2 separate regions of the Homo sapiens genome follow, and region 2 is linked to region 1. Evidence: promoter capture Hi-C in human tissues and cell types (Jung and others, 2019). All regions are on one chromosome and are shown on one strand. The core of a region is centred on a gene start or on the middle of the fragment in contact, and the rest is flanking DNA. Distances in the headings are between cores, read along the strand shown.

Region 1 (5,864 bases), core at 2,465-4,964:
GCAGTTTGAGGGGCAGGCGGGCTGCAGCCTTAGCCTTCTGCTTGGCCTTCACCATCGACCCATACTTGCGGTACCATTCACAGCGCAACATCTTTTCCCTCAGATATTCCTCCTTCCAGAAGTTCTGCCGTAACGCGTCTATGTTGAGCTGCCGTGACATGGTGGCCAGGGAAGGAGTGGCACCAGGGTGGCCACAGCTGAGGGGTGAGCACAGCAAGCAGAGTGCTTCTGACGGCGAGTGGCTGCCCAGGCACAGTCACCTGGCAACCATGCCTCACCTCACACAGGGCCAGGGTTCTACTTGCCATGCCCCCAGCAGACCCCATGAGCCTGGCTTCCTGAGGCAGCCTGAGGCCAGGGCCCACTGGTTAAGAGCCCTGCTCCCCCCAAAACTCCCGCAGGGCCCTCGCGGGATCTGGCATCACAGACTCCCAGGTTTCGTGTGCTTTCTGCTTCTGTCCTTTGGATCTGGCCCCCTTCCCAGCCCAATGCCGAGCAAGGTGGGGGAAGCAGGAGCTGGGCTCAAGCCTCCTCCCATTCCTCCCCAGACCAGAGCTGGTCTTCTCTGATCCAAGGACCAGTCCTTGAGTTCTGCCTCCCGGCACAATCCTCCTGGGCCACCTCTTCTATGCCTGTCTTTGGCAGCACCTTTTCCATCCTTGCCAACCGAATCTGCCCCATGGCCTCACCCCACACATGTCCTTTCCAGCACCCAACCCATCTGGAGAGAAGCAAGAATATGACTTTAATTTAACATCAACAATGACACTGTGTAACAGCACAGGGAAGAGGTAGTGGAGGGAGATGGTCAGGCTTCCTGTTCCTTAACCAGCAGAGCCCCAGCAACCTAGAAGCGCCTCACCTAGCCTCTTAATGGAGTGGGAAGGAGCAGGGAATTGGAAATCAGAGGCTCAAAAAGTAAAGAAGGCTGATGGCAAGCCTGGGGAGAGGCCTGGAAACGAGGGAAGGGCTGAGGGCTATGAGGAGTCCCCTAGCGCAGGTCTTCGGCAGTGAACATGCCCCTGGCCCTGCGCAGGATGGAGTCCTTGGCGGCGTCATATGGGTGCTCCTTGGAGGGGATCTCCAGGACAGCGGGGATGGACTGCTGGTGGGCGTCCAGGGCATGCCGCACCATCTCTGCGATGTACTGGTTGATGAGGATGATGCCAATGTCATCCCGGTTTAGAAATTGCCTGTGGGGAGAGATGAGAAGGGAGTCCAGGACAGCTCTGGGGGCTGCCGTCTCTCCTACCCAGGCAGCCCTCTCCGAGTTGTTGGGCTGGGCTGTGGAGGGGAATGAGCATGACCCAGAGGGCACAGAGGACAAGGGGAAAGGCTGCCACGCTCAACCCTCTGTCAACCCTACCTAGAATCAATTTCATCCCAAAGCGGAGGGTCACGCTGATTAGGGTTGGCTTCTACAACACTGCCCGGAAGGCTTCCAAGTGAACTGGTAATGAAGATTGATTAGGGTGCACACTGGTGTATTCAATATGCAGTGATGTGTCAGAAAGGGGAAGGATAAGATTATATGTATGCAGATCCCTTTTTATGTGCAGATACTGAAGGCCAGCTGTGATGGCTCACGCCTGTAATCCCAGCACTTTGGGAGGCCGAGGCAGGTGGATTGCTTGAACCCAGGAGTTTGAGACCAGAATGGGCCACATAGTGAGACCCCCATCTCCCTCTCTCTCTCTCTCTCTCTCTATCTATATATACACACACAAAAAAATGGCTGGATGTGGCGGATCTATCTATCTATCTATATATATACACACAAAAAAAAAATGGCTGGATGTGGCGGCATGTGCCAGCTACTTGGGAAGCTGTAGTCCTAGCTATTTAGGAAGCTGAGGTGGGAGAATCACTTGAGCCTGGGAAGTCGAGGCCGCAGTGAGCTGCGATCACGCCACTGCAATCCAGCCTGGGTGACAGGAGTGAGACCCTGTCTCAGAAAAAAAAAAAAAAAAAGACACATTAACTTTTAAAAAGAAAACAAATTATTTAAAAATAGGGCTGATGAGACCACTGAAGGCCTCAAGGTCTATCCTGATGAGGGTGGTGGAGGGGTCAGAGGGAAAGTTTGGCATGAACTAAGATCACAAGCTAGGAAGAGGACACCTTGATGAAGGAATCACACTTTCTGCACAAAAAGAACCTGGCCTTGTGCTCCTTCTCTCCTGTGGTCACCCACCCATTCATTTGTTTATTTTATTTTTATTTTTTTGAGACAGGGTCTCCCTCTGTCACCCAGGCTGGAGTGCAGTGGTGGATCTCGGCTCACTGCAGTCTCCACCTCCCAGGTTCAAACAATTCTCCTTCCTCAGCCTCCTGATTTCTTGGGATTACAGGCACCCGCCACCACGCCTGGCTAATTTTTGTATTTTTAGTAGAAATGGGGTTTCACCATATTGGTCAGGCTAGTCTCAAACTCCCGAGCTCAGGTGATCCACCCGCCTCGGCCTCCAAAACTGTTGGGATTACAGGCGTGAGCCACTGCACCCAGACTCATTCGTTTATTTACTGATTAAAAATTACTTACTGAGCACCCACCCCCTGCCAGTCACTGGGTTAGATTTGATCTCTGAGGTCCCTTTTGGTTGGAAACATAAAAAATTCTTGAAGTAAAATTTGTCCTTCTCCCATGATAACTTGGGTCACTTTACCAGACAGCTTAGAGAATGGCAGATAACAGCCTCCCAGGTCAGGGACTACCTAATACACCAGGCAGCAGGAACCAGTCTCAGCCAGCAGCCCTGGGCTGGACTGTTTGGGGGAAACAGGTGAGTGGTTTATTCCTGAGACTTGGTACAGGGGCCCTGGAGAAGGGGTGAGGAATAAAATAGGAGGCTGGTATCCTTAATTCCAGTCACCAGGACCCCTGGTGGATTAAAAGCATGCCTGCACCCACACTCTGACCTAAGGCAGGCAGTGAGGGCTTGAGTGCAAGGTCTTAGCAGAAGGCTCTCACAGTCCCGACATTTCTGCCTACTGTGCTCAAGACTACAAGGAAATTCCGAGGCCGCCTGAGGAGACCTGCCAAGAGTGTGTACCTGGCTTACCGGAGGCAGAAAGGGTTGAGATTGGGTTCAAATTCTAGCTCTGCCTCTGCCGACTCGTAACTTTAGTGTGTGCCTTACCCTCTCCGAGCTTTAGTTTTCTCACCTGTGAGTAGGACAAAAATCATCCCTGCCTTACGGGACGATGGTGAGCCTCTAAAGGAGGAGAAAGCAGAACAAAGTCCAAGCCCACTGTCTAGGCTGTCACGAGCTCTGTTCCCCTTCTTTCATGACACACGATCATGTGAGGTGGGGGGGCTCGTGGACCTGATACAGCTTCTGTCCCACCGAGCCCCAAACGGGGACTTGGGGCGCGGAGGCCTCCGCTCCGGAAGGGCGGAAGGACTTTCAGGATCGTCCCCTCACCCCCGTCCGGGCAGCCTCCAGCCTCGCCCCGCACTCCACCGAGCAGCAGAAGGGCCCGTTCAGGCCTCGCGCGGTACCGTACCGGAAAGTGTCTTCGATCTCATTGATGGTTGTATCCTTCTCCACCACCAGGAAATTGGGATGGCGGTTCTTGTTAAGCTCCCCTATGCCGCCCAGCAGGAAACCAGTCACCGTGTCCTCGTCTCCGATCACTGCGATGAGCTTACCCCTCCCCGCCATCCCTGCAGCCGGGCAGAGCTCACCCTAGAGCACCAGAAGCCACTGAAACCCCGCCTCCGCCGTACGGCGCCCCGTCGGCCTCAACCCCCACCCTTCGAGCATGCGCAGTCCTCCCAGCCGCATTCCGGGACATGCGCATTAACAGCAACACGGCCTCCATGTGAATACGCCTGCGCCGTAAAGACAGGCCCGAACCAGGGGACTACGATTCCCAGAAGACCGCGCGGCACCACGTCCTTCGCGGGCATTCATTCGTTCATTCACTCGTTCCTTGGTTCATTCGTTCAACAAGCGCTTTGGACCTGACGCTGTTAGACGCCGAGACCCCAGAGAAGAGACGCAGTTACTCATCTCAAGGGCAGGGTCTGGGTCTTTATCGTGTATGTATGTGTGTAACTATGACACATAGTTAACAAGTAACACACGTTTGTTCAGTTAAAGGAATGCAAAAGTTAATGATGATACTGCCTAGTGAGGTGGAAAGTCAAGGGAACAGGCGACTACAAAGCTGTGTGTTAATGGTTAGAATGTGAAAAGTATATGGAAGCACACATCCATGGTAACTAACCCATGGAGAGAGGGGGCGTCCAAAGAACCCTTCCCCAAGAAGCTTGCTTCAGATCTAAGCTGAGACCTGAAGGACCTGCAGGATGAAGGGGATAGAAGTGAGGACAAGACGGTGTTCTAGGCAGAGGAACAGCATGTGCAAAGGCGTACTGACTAGAGAGCGTAGGGCCTTCAAGGAAAGTTAAATAATTGGTAAGGCCAGGCATGGTGGCTCACGCCACACCTGTAATCCCAGCACTTTGGGAGGCTGAGGCAGGTGGATCACCTGAGGTCAGGAGTTTGAGACCAGCCTGGCCAACATGGCGAAAACCCGTCTCTACTAAAAACACAAAAAATTAGCCGGGCGTGGTTGTGGGCGCCTGTAGTCCCAGCTACTCGAGAGGCTGAGGCAGGAGAATTGCTTCAACCCGGGAAGCGGAGGTTGCAGTGAGCCGAGATTGTGCCATTGCACTCCAGCCTGGGTGACAGAGCGAGACTCTGTCTCAAAAAAAAAAAAAAAAAAAAAAAAAAAAAATTAGCCAGGCGTGGTGGTGCACACTTATAGTTCCAGGTACTCGAGAAGCTGAGGCAGCAGGGCTTACTCAGGAGTTCAAGGTTACAGTGAGCTATGATCACGGCACTGCACTTAAACCTGAGCAGCAGAGCGAGACCCTGTCTAAAAAAAAAAAAAAAGGATCTGCAGGCTGGGCGCGGTGGCTCACGCCTGTAATCCCAGCACTTTGGGAGGCTGAGGCGGGTAGATCACCTGAAGTCAGGAGTTTGAGACCAGTCTGGCCAACATGGTGAAATCCCATCTCCACTAAAAATACAAAAAAAATTAGCCCAGTGAGGTGGTGTGTGCCTGTAGTCCCAGCTACTCGGGAGGCTGAGGCAGGACAATTGCTTGAACCCGGGCAAGGGAGGTTGCAGTGAGCTGAGATGGCGCCACTGCACTCCAGCCTAGGTGACAGAGTGAGACTCTGTCTAAAAAAAAAAAAAAAAAAAAAAAAAGATCTGGAAGTTATCCTGAGGACAGTTATCCTGAAGCTGCTGAGGGATTTCAAGTAAGAGAGTGCTATCGCCAAACTTACGTTTTAGAGCTGTCACTCACTGTTGACTGTGCTGTGTGCAGAGGCGAAACTGAGGGAGGAGAAACCAAATTGGGAGGCCACTGTGAGAGATAATGGTGGCCAGGACTCAGGTGGTGATAATGGGAAACGCAGAGAAGTAGGTAGAGCCGAGAGATATTTAGATATTTAGGACAAAACTGGTTTCAGAGTGGATGTGTTTGGGGAGTGAGGTAGAGAGAGAGACCTGGGTGATTTCCAGGTTTCTGGCCTGTGCAGCACATGGATGGGAGTAACATTGCCAAGAAAGTGACCTCTGTAAGATGAGCAGGCTGAAGGGGAAGGAGCCACTCTTTCCTCCTCCCTTTTAACAAATCAGCACTCCCGGTGTCTGGCATGGGGTTTGTGAGTTTGGAGTGCTTGAGACGTGCCCGTGGTCTGGTCTAGCGATTGTATGTGTGATAAGCTTGGGATTCGGGCACACCTGGGTTTCAATCTGTGCCCCACTACTTAAAGGTACGGTTTCAGACTCATCACTGAAATTCCCAGGGCCTTGGTTTCTTCAGATGGTAGTAGCCCCACCTCA
Region 2 (5,864 bases), core at 2,274-4,773, 560 kb before region 1:
AGAGGGAAGGTAGAGTAGATACATTTTTTTTCTTTGTTTAAATGAAAAAAAGAAAACTGAATATCTCCATTAAGAAGGCAAAAAAGTGCCAGGCACGGTAGCACACACCTGTGGTTCCAGCTACTCAGGAAGCTGAGGCAGGAGGATTGCTTGAGCCCAGGAGTTTGAGACCAGCCTGGGCAACATAGTGAAACCCTGTCTCTAAGGGTGAAAAGAAAAGAAAGAAAGAAGGCAAAATATTAGCACAGATTCATTGTAGAGAAAATGTTATGTATCCTCACAGACTGGAGCCACATACAAAGAGATAAGTAGCCTTCTTTCCCATGCTTCCAGATAACCAGGATGCATCTAAGGTAAGAGGTTGGAGGAAAGAAGACACATTGCTCTGATTCCAAGGGTAGAGGGAATAATGACCAGATTTCAACCCTAAGATAGAACCCAAATACTTGGGAGGCTTGTGGTTCTTTCTTCTTAATGGTTGATAACACAGTGTCCCTACAGAGAGGTCATCTGAAACTCAGAGGCAAATAACTCATCATGGGCAGCAACACTGGCAACCTAACTTAGAAGCCCCGTGTGGCCCCTTTTTTATTTGGAGTGGGTCTCTTCACTACAGCAAGGCAGAATGTACTCTTTAAGTACCAGCACATAGTAAGCTCCAGAGAGCAAGGCTTTGCTGAGAAACAGCAGGTTATGATTTTTGGTCTAAGAATACAATAGGCTAGAGACCATCTATCTGCCAAATGGAATCTGCTCTGGATATAAGATAAGGTACAAAGATCTGAATCCCTTGCTAAAGGGAACCAATTAATACAAAAATCAGGACTAGGTAGGCAAAAGGAAGAACTGAATGGCTTAGTGGAATTTTTAGCATTTATGATCTTCCTTACAAAAAAAGAATATAACCAGTACTTGCTGAGACATATGGCCTCTGAAGAACTGTAGTCTATGGGCTGAGCCTGTATACTATTAAATGAGGCAAACAGTCATTTACCAAAGTTCCACTTCCCTACTTCCGAAAGTAAGGTCACTTTCAGACTAGCTTTGAGAGTATATGTGAAGACCAGGAGAAGTTGGAGAGGGTAGAGGTAGAAGAAGAGAATCAGGATGGGAAGGTTTTGGTGATCATGCGTGGTCTGGTGTTATCTTGAGTCACCTTGGTCTTGAGACTTTGAGGCAGACCAGCATAGGAAAAAAGTGGGAAACAAACAAACCTGAGAGTGTTAAAAAGGATCGGTAAGGGGAAGAGGCTTATTTAATTCAAGTTTCCTAGGGCCAGTCCAGACTAACTCTTAGAACCAATCTGGTCCTAATGAAATGCCTGAGACCAACAGATCAGTCTCCAAAAGGAATCCAATTTTTGGGTGGGACATAAAATGTCACGCTGCCCACACCACATTACTAATTCTTTTTGTAGCACTGGAGTTACTCAAGAAACTGACTCTGAAATACAGAATCATCAAATGGAAGAGGTTAAATCATAAAAGATATGCCAGCAGAGAAGTCCACAGATCAGACTGCAGATCTCGGTTTCATCCATGGCAATGGCCAAAGGAATGAATGTCTGACGAGGTTCAAACTAGTCAAATTAGCTTTGATAATCTGGATACAGTTTACAATTTCATCTCTGTATCCCTCAGCCAGTCAAACTGCAATGGCCTTCCTGGGAAACAAATAAATATACTCTGCTTTGTTAGGGTATCAAGCTGTGAGTCTGAAAGACCTGTCCCATTTCCAAAGCCTATCCCCCTAAGTCCCTGGAAAAGTATGCCTTTCCCTACTCAGTTTCAGACGTAGCTTTAGGCAATAGCAGGAAGTTTCAGGAAGCAGTGTTTCACAACAAGCTCTCCTTTTCTGAGATAGTGCCAATCTGGAGGGGCTTCCTTGGAAACTATCCAATCAAATGACAAGGAAGTAAAACTATGGGTCCCAGTGGAGCTGGCCCCACTTCCTGAGCAGACGTTGGCTGGATTAGAAAGACAGCAGAACAAATGTCTGACAAATACCAAAACTGTGGAGGAAATAATGGAGGCACATCCCTCTTGCAACCAGGAAGTGTTAAAATGGACATAAATATTCAAGGAGAAGAAAGGAGTCCTGGGTAAGAAAGGAGACCCCTGGTAGGCACAGCACAGCTGAGTTCTTGATGTAGCTTGGCAAAGCCATAAATAACACTCCTTCCTTATTAGCCTTTATATAAAGAAGGCAGTGATAGTGATGGTCAAGATTGGGAACCCAATCTTGTGTGAAACACTGGCCATGTTAATTCCAAACGGCCTCACCCGGGGAAGGGCCAAGCTGAGAAAAGCAGGTGCTGAAAATTTATTCCAGAAAACTCCAGGGAATAGGGAGTATGGAATCCCTGGACTAACTCGTGAGCCTGGACAAGAGGAAAAACGGCCACTGCTGAGGATTCAGTCAATGGGGAATGATGCAAATGATGCACTGGGAGCAGTAACCCCATTTCTTTCCTTCCTCAGCCCATCCTCTGTGGCTTTCATGGCCCTCAGGGCAGTAACCACACTCTGGGCCAACACTACAGGCACAGGATTCTTGATTTTAATAAATAAATAACCTAACACACAGGGTGAGCACGGCAGGCAGCTTTGATTGGAGAAGCAGCTTGCTGAATTCTTTCTTGTATAGTAGTGGAGAAAAGGCTTGGAGTTCTATTCCTTAAAAATTCTGGTTTGAGTTACAGGAACTTAATACCTGGAGGGAAAAAGAAAGATGAGACTGTGATGTTATCAGCTAATGGGGATGCTGGGACATGAAGAGCCTGCCTAAAGGTGTAACAGGGAGGCAGAGACTTTTCTGGAGTGTACAGTGACAGGAAATAACTGTGTTTCCTTTTCACATCATTGAAAAAGGCCAATATTTCTCCATAAAGAGATAAAAATCATAGCAACAAGATGAAATGGGGAAAGGAATTGAGGAAGGGGAACTTTATTTAATGAGGCAAATAGCCACTTACCCAAACTCCACCTCTCTATCTCCAAAAGGCAAATTCAGGAAGGGGAATACTATTTAAGGCCTTGAAGAGTCTTTTGAAGGTGGCAGTGAGGGGAAGTGGGTTCATTTTTCTGAGTTCATGTAAGCATATGTGGTTGGGGATGCAAAGACCAATTCCAGTGCAGGAAGCTCATCACTGCCCAGGTGTCCCTGATTTCTGGGGAGCCCAAGGCACCTGTAGTAATTAGGCTTGAAGGGCCCATTCTTGTTGAGTCCCAGATACTTGGCCTGTTCATCTGTCAGCTCTGTCAAGTGGGCATCAAAGGTAGGCAGGTGTAGGCTGGCCACATACTCATCTGGAACAGACCACAGAAGCCCTGGTATAAGCATTCATGCCTTTTATCTGATGGCTATTGTCCCCAAGCTAGGCCTTAAAAAGTTCAAAGACACCTTCTAATTCCTGGAGCTGAATGAAAAATGTTCAACCTTCGCTCACTGGTCCTCAATTCTAAGGAATAGCTGCCTTCAGCTTCAAGCCCAGTGCTTTCCAAAGCCTTAATAATTCATCCTTACTAACTCAGCTTTGAACCCTGCCTTCCAGAAAAGTGCAGGAGAGATGAAAGAAACAACAGGCATTAAGATTTAAAAGAAGGAATAGGATAATGTGGGAACTAAATAATGGGAAGCTCCAACTTGAGTTTTGCCTTGGACTCCATACTTTGGGTCATTTAAAACAACTAATGCCTGGGGAAACTTGAATGGAAAAACTAAGAAGGATACTAAATGGGATAAATGAACTGTTTGCTTTGCTTTTAGTACTCTTAATTCTTATGGGTTTCTGTTCACATTCTATTATCTGACTACATAGTACTTATTCATAATCTTATGTCATTTCCTATGTATTTGTTTGGTCTCCCAACTTCATTATACATTCTGTCAGAATATGGACTGTGCTGTTGCTTTTATATCCTTCTAAAGTGTCTACTAAAGGGAAAATGTATCAACTTTTAACAGTTGTTATATACCTAGTGCTAAGGCAAAACAAAACCAGAAGCTTATTTATTACCTGATCTTTGCCTGAGGAGTTTATAAACACACTGTATCAGTTCAGGTGCTTGAGGCAGGCTCTTTAAAAATTTAAGACAGGTTAATGTTTCTCTTATACAAAACACCCACATAACTAAATAGCTCCTATTCCACATCTCTCCTTTGGCCTGAAGCACTGGGATTGGTGTTGGAAGGTGTAGTAAGAAAGTCTTGTGTCGTCTGAGAAAAGTTTGGTAGGGGCTATTTGGCAGCCTAGAATTGGAGTAAGTCAGATGTCACAAGGTAGGAGATGATTCTTCTCTTTTAAGGGAAGATTTTTTTTTTCTCCTTTGAGATTCCCACATAAAGATACTTTAAGAAAAAAAAAATCCTTAAAATTCACAGGCAGGTAAAATAAATCACAGCATAATATCACAACTTCGCTAGGGCAACACATGTAGAAAATGGGATAAATAAATGGGAATGGCACCTAGGAATCCTAATTCCTACTTTACAAGATGAAGGTACCTTTTTTCCCCCATCCTTAAGTAAGTTAATGCCCCCAAACTTCCTTTAACCTCAGACTCTGAACTACTTTGGTAAGGATGGAGATGGAAGAGTAAATACTTACCCATCTTCTTGGGCAACAGGTAGACATCCTGCTTATAGCGACCCTCAGGAGCATTGTAAAGCTCTATCAAGGCAAGAGCCTAGAAAAGCAGAGAGATGGATGCTGATGTGCCATTCATGGCAATCTACCCAAGCAAGTGAAACCTGGTGGGTCTGAGGACCTTCTCCAGACTACTGCTATCCCACTCTGGAAGCCTTACCTGAGTAGTAGCAGTGATTGAGAGCACAAATGTAGGCACTGTGGAGCAGCTAAGGTTCAGCAGGCGGCCCTAGTGATCAAAGGTGAAGACACAAATGGATTAGGACAAAGTCGCTGGCCTTTGAGAAGTGAGGGAAGAGAAGCATGACCACCATTTTCCAAACACTTCCTGACTAACACTGCTGGAAAAAAAGCAGCTATTCAATATATAAGAACTAACTGACTGACATTTAAATGAAACCACTAAAATTCTGGAAAATCTGATGAAACTAATAGCTAAAAGATTTCTGGAATTATTTAAAAAGGAATACAGATGGTCATATGACACTGAGGCTTATGCCAAATATCAGTGTACTTCTCTTGAATTTTCCACTCTCTATAGCAAAATATCCTCCTTCTGAGGATCGGCATTTCTTTTAAAGACTGTCTTGAAATAAACAATGATCAGTCAAATCCAGGGACAATCTCTCCAGGTTGTGAGGGGAGGTATATTTGGACTTAGGAAGCTGTGATGATTGATTGATTGATTGATTGATTGATTGATTAGATGGAGTCTCCCTCTGTTGCCCAGGCTGGAGTTCCATGGCATGATCTTGACTCACTGTAACCTCTGCCCCCTGGGTTCAAGTGATTCTCCTGCCTCAGCCTCCAGAGTAACTGGGATCACAGGTGTGCGCCACCATGCCCGGCTAACTTTTGTATTTTTTTTTTTTTTTTTGTAGAGACAGGGTTTCACCATAGCTGTGATGATTTTTGTGCTTCTCCTTCAGTTTGCTTCTCCTGAATTCAAAGACAGCATTGTCAGCCTTGTATTTTGAGTTGGTGATTCAGACAGTAGAAGAACTAGAAATTGCCCCCAATGCCACCCTTTCCTATTTTGTTTCCTATGAAGCCTGACCACCTTTTTGCTCAACCATCTAGCCAAAAACACCCATGGTACTTGCTTTTGTCACCAAAATTACCAGGTGGGACCTCCTAGGGCAGCTAGAAACAAGTCATCAGTCAGCAGACTGACATCAAAGCTATTAATGCATATTTGGCAATCTGCCCATCTCCT

Evidence for each region. Contacts are between HindIII fragments. The study calls those that stand out against the background at their distance.
Region 2: a contact is called between a fragment that was not itself captured here and the fragment with the promoter of ATP6V1F in region 1, in 1 of the 25 tissues and cell types used here (lymphoblastoid cells).

Annotation. Positions count from the first base shown.
Region 1 is chr7:128,860,706-128,866,569 of GRCh38, reverse strand. ATP6V1F (ATPase H+ transporting V1 subunit F) reads right to left here and starts at 3,714. Exons shown (of 2, transcript NM_004231.4): 1 at 3,508-3,714; 2 at 723-1,193. The coding sequence starts at 3,665. The coding sequence ends at 992. It overlaps FLNC-AS1 (FLNC antisense RNA 1), which reads left to right and starts at 3,944. Exons shown (of 4, transcript NR_149055.1): 1 at 3,944-4,045. SPMIP1 (sperm microtubule inner protein 1) reads right to left here and starts at 240. Exons shown (of 2, transcript NM_001195150.3): 1 at 1-240. The coding sequence starts at 160. RefSeq lists enhancers at 3,421-3,910, 3,991-4,100. The HindIII fragment of the contact is 21,210 bases long and covers 1-5,010 here.
Region 2 is chr7:129,423,887-129,429,750 of GRCh38, reverse strand. AHCYL2 (adenosylhomocysteinase like 2) reads right to left here. Exons shown (of 17, transcript NM_015328.4): 14 at 4,809-4,877; 15 at 4,610-4,688; 16 at 3,188-3,308; 17 at 1-2,712. The coding sequence ends at 2,706. Among named protein-coding and RNA genes, the nearest start is that of STRIP2, 7.6 kb to the left of the region's middle. The HindIII fragment of the contact is 3,108 bases long and covers 1,970-5,077 here.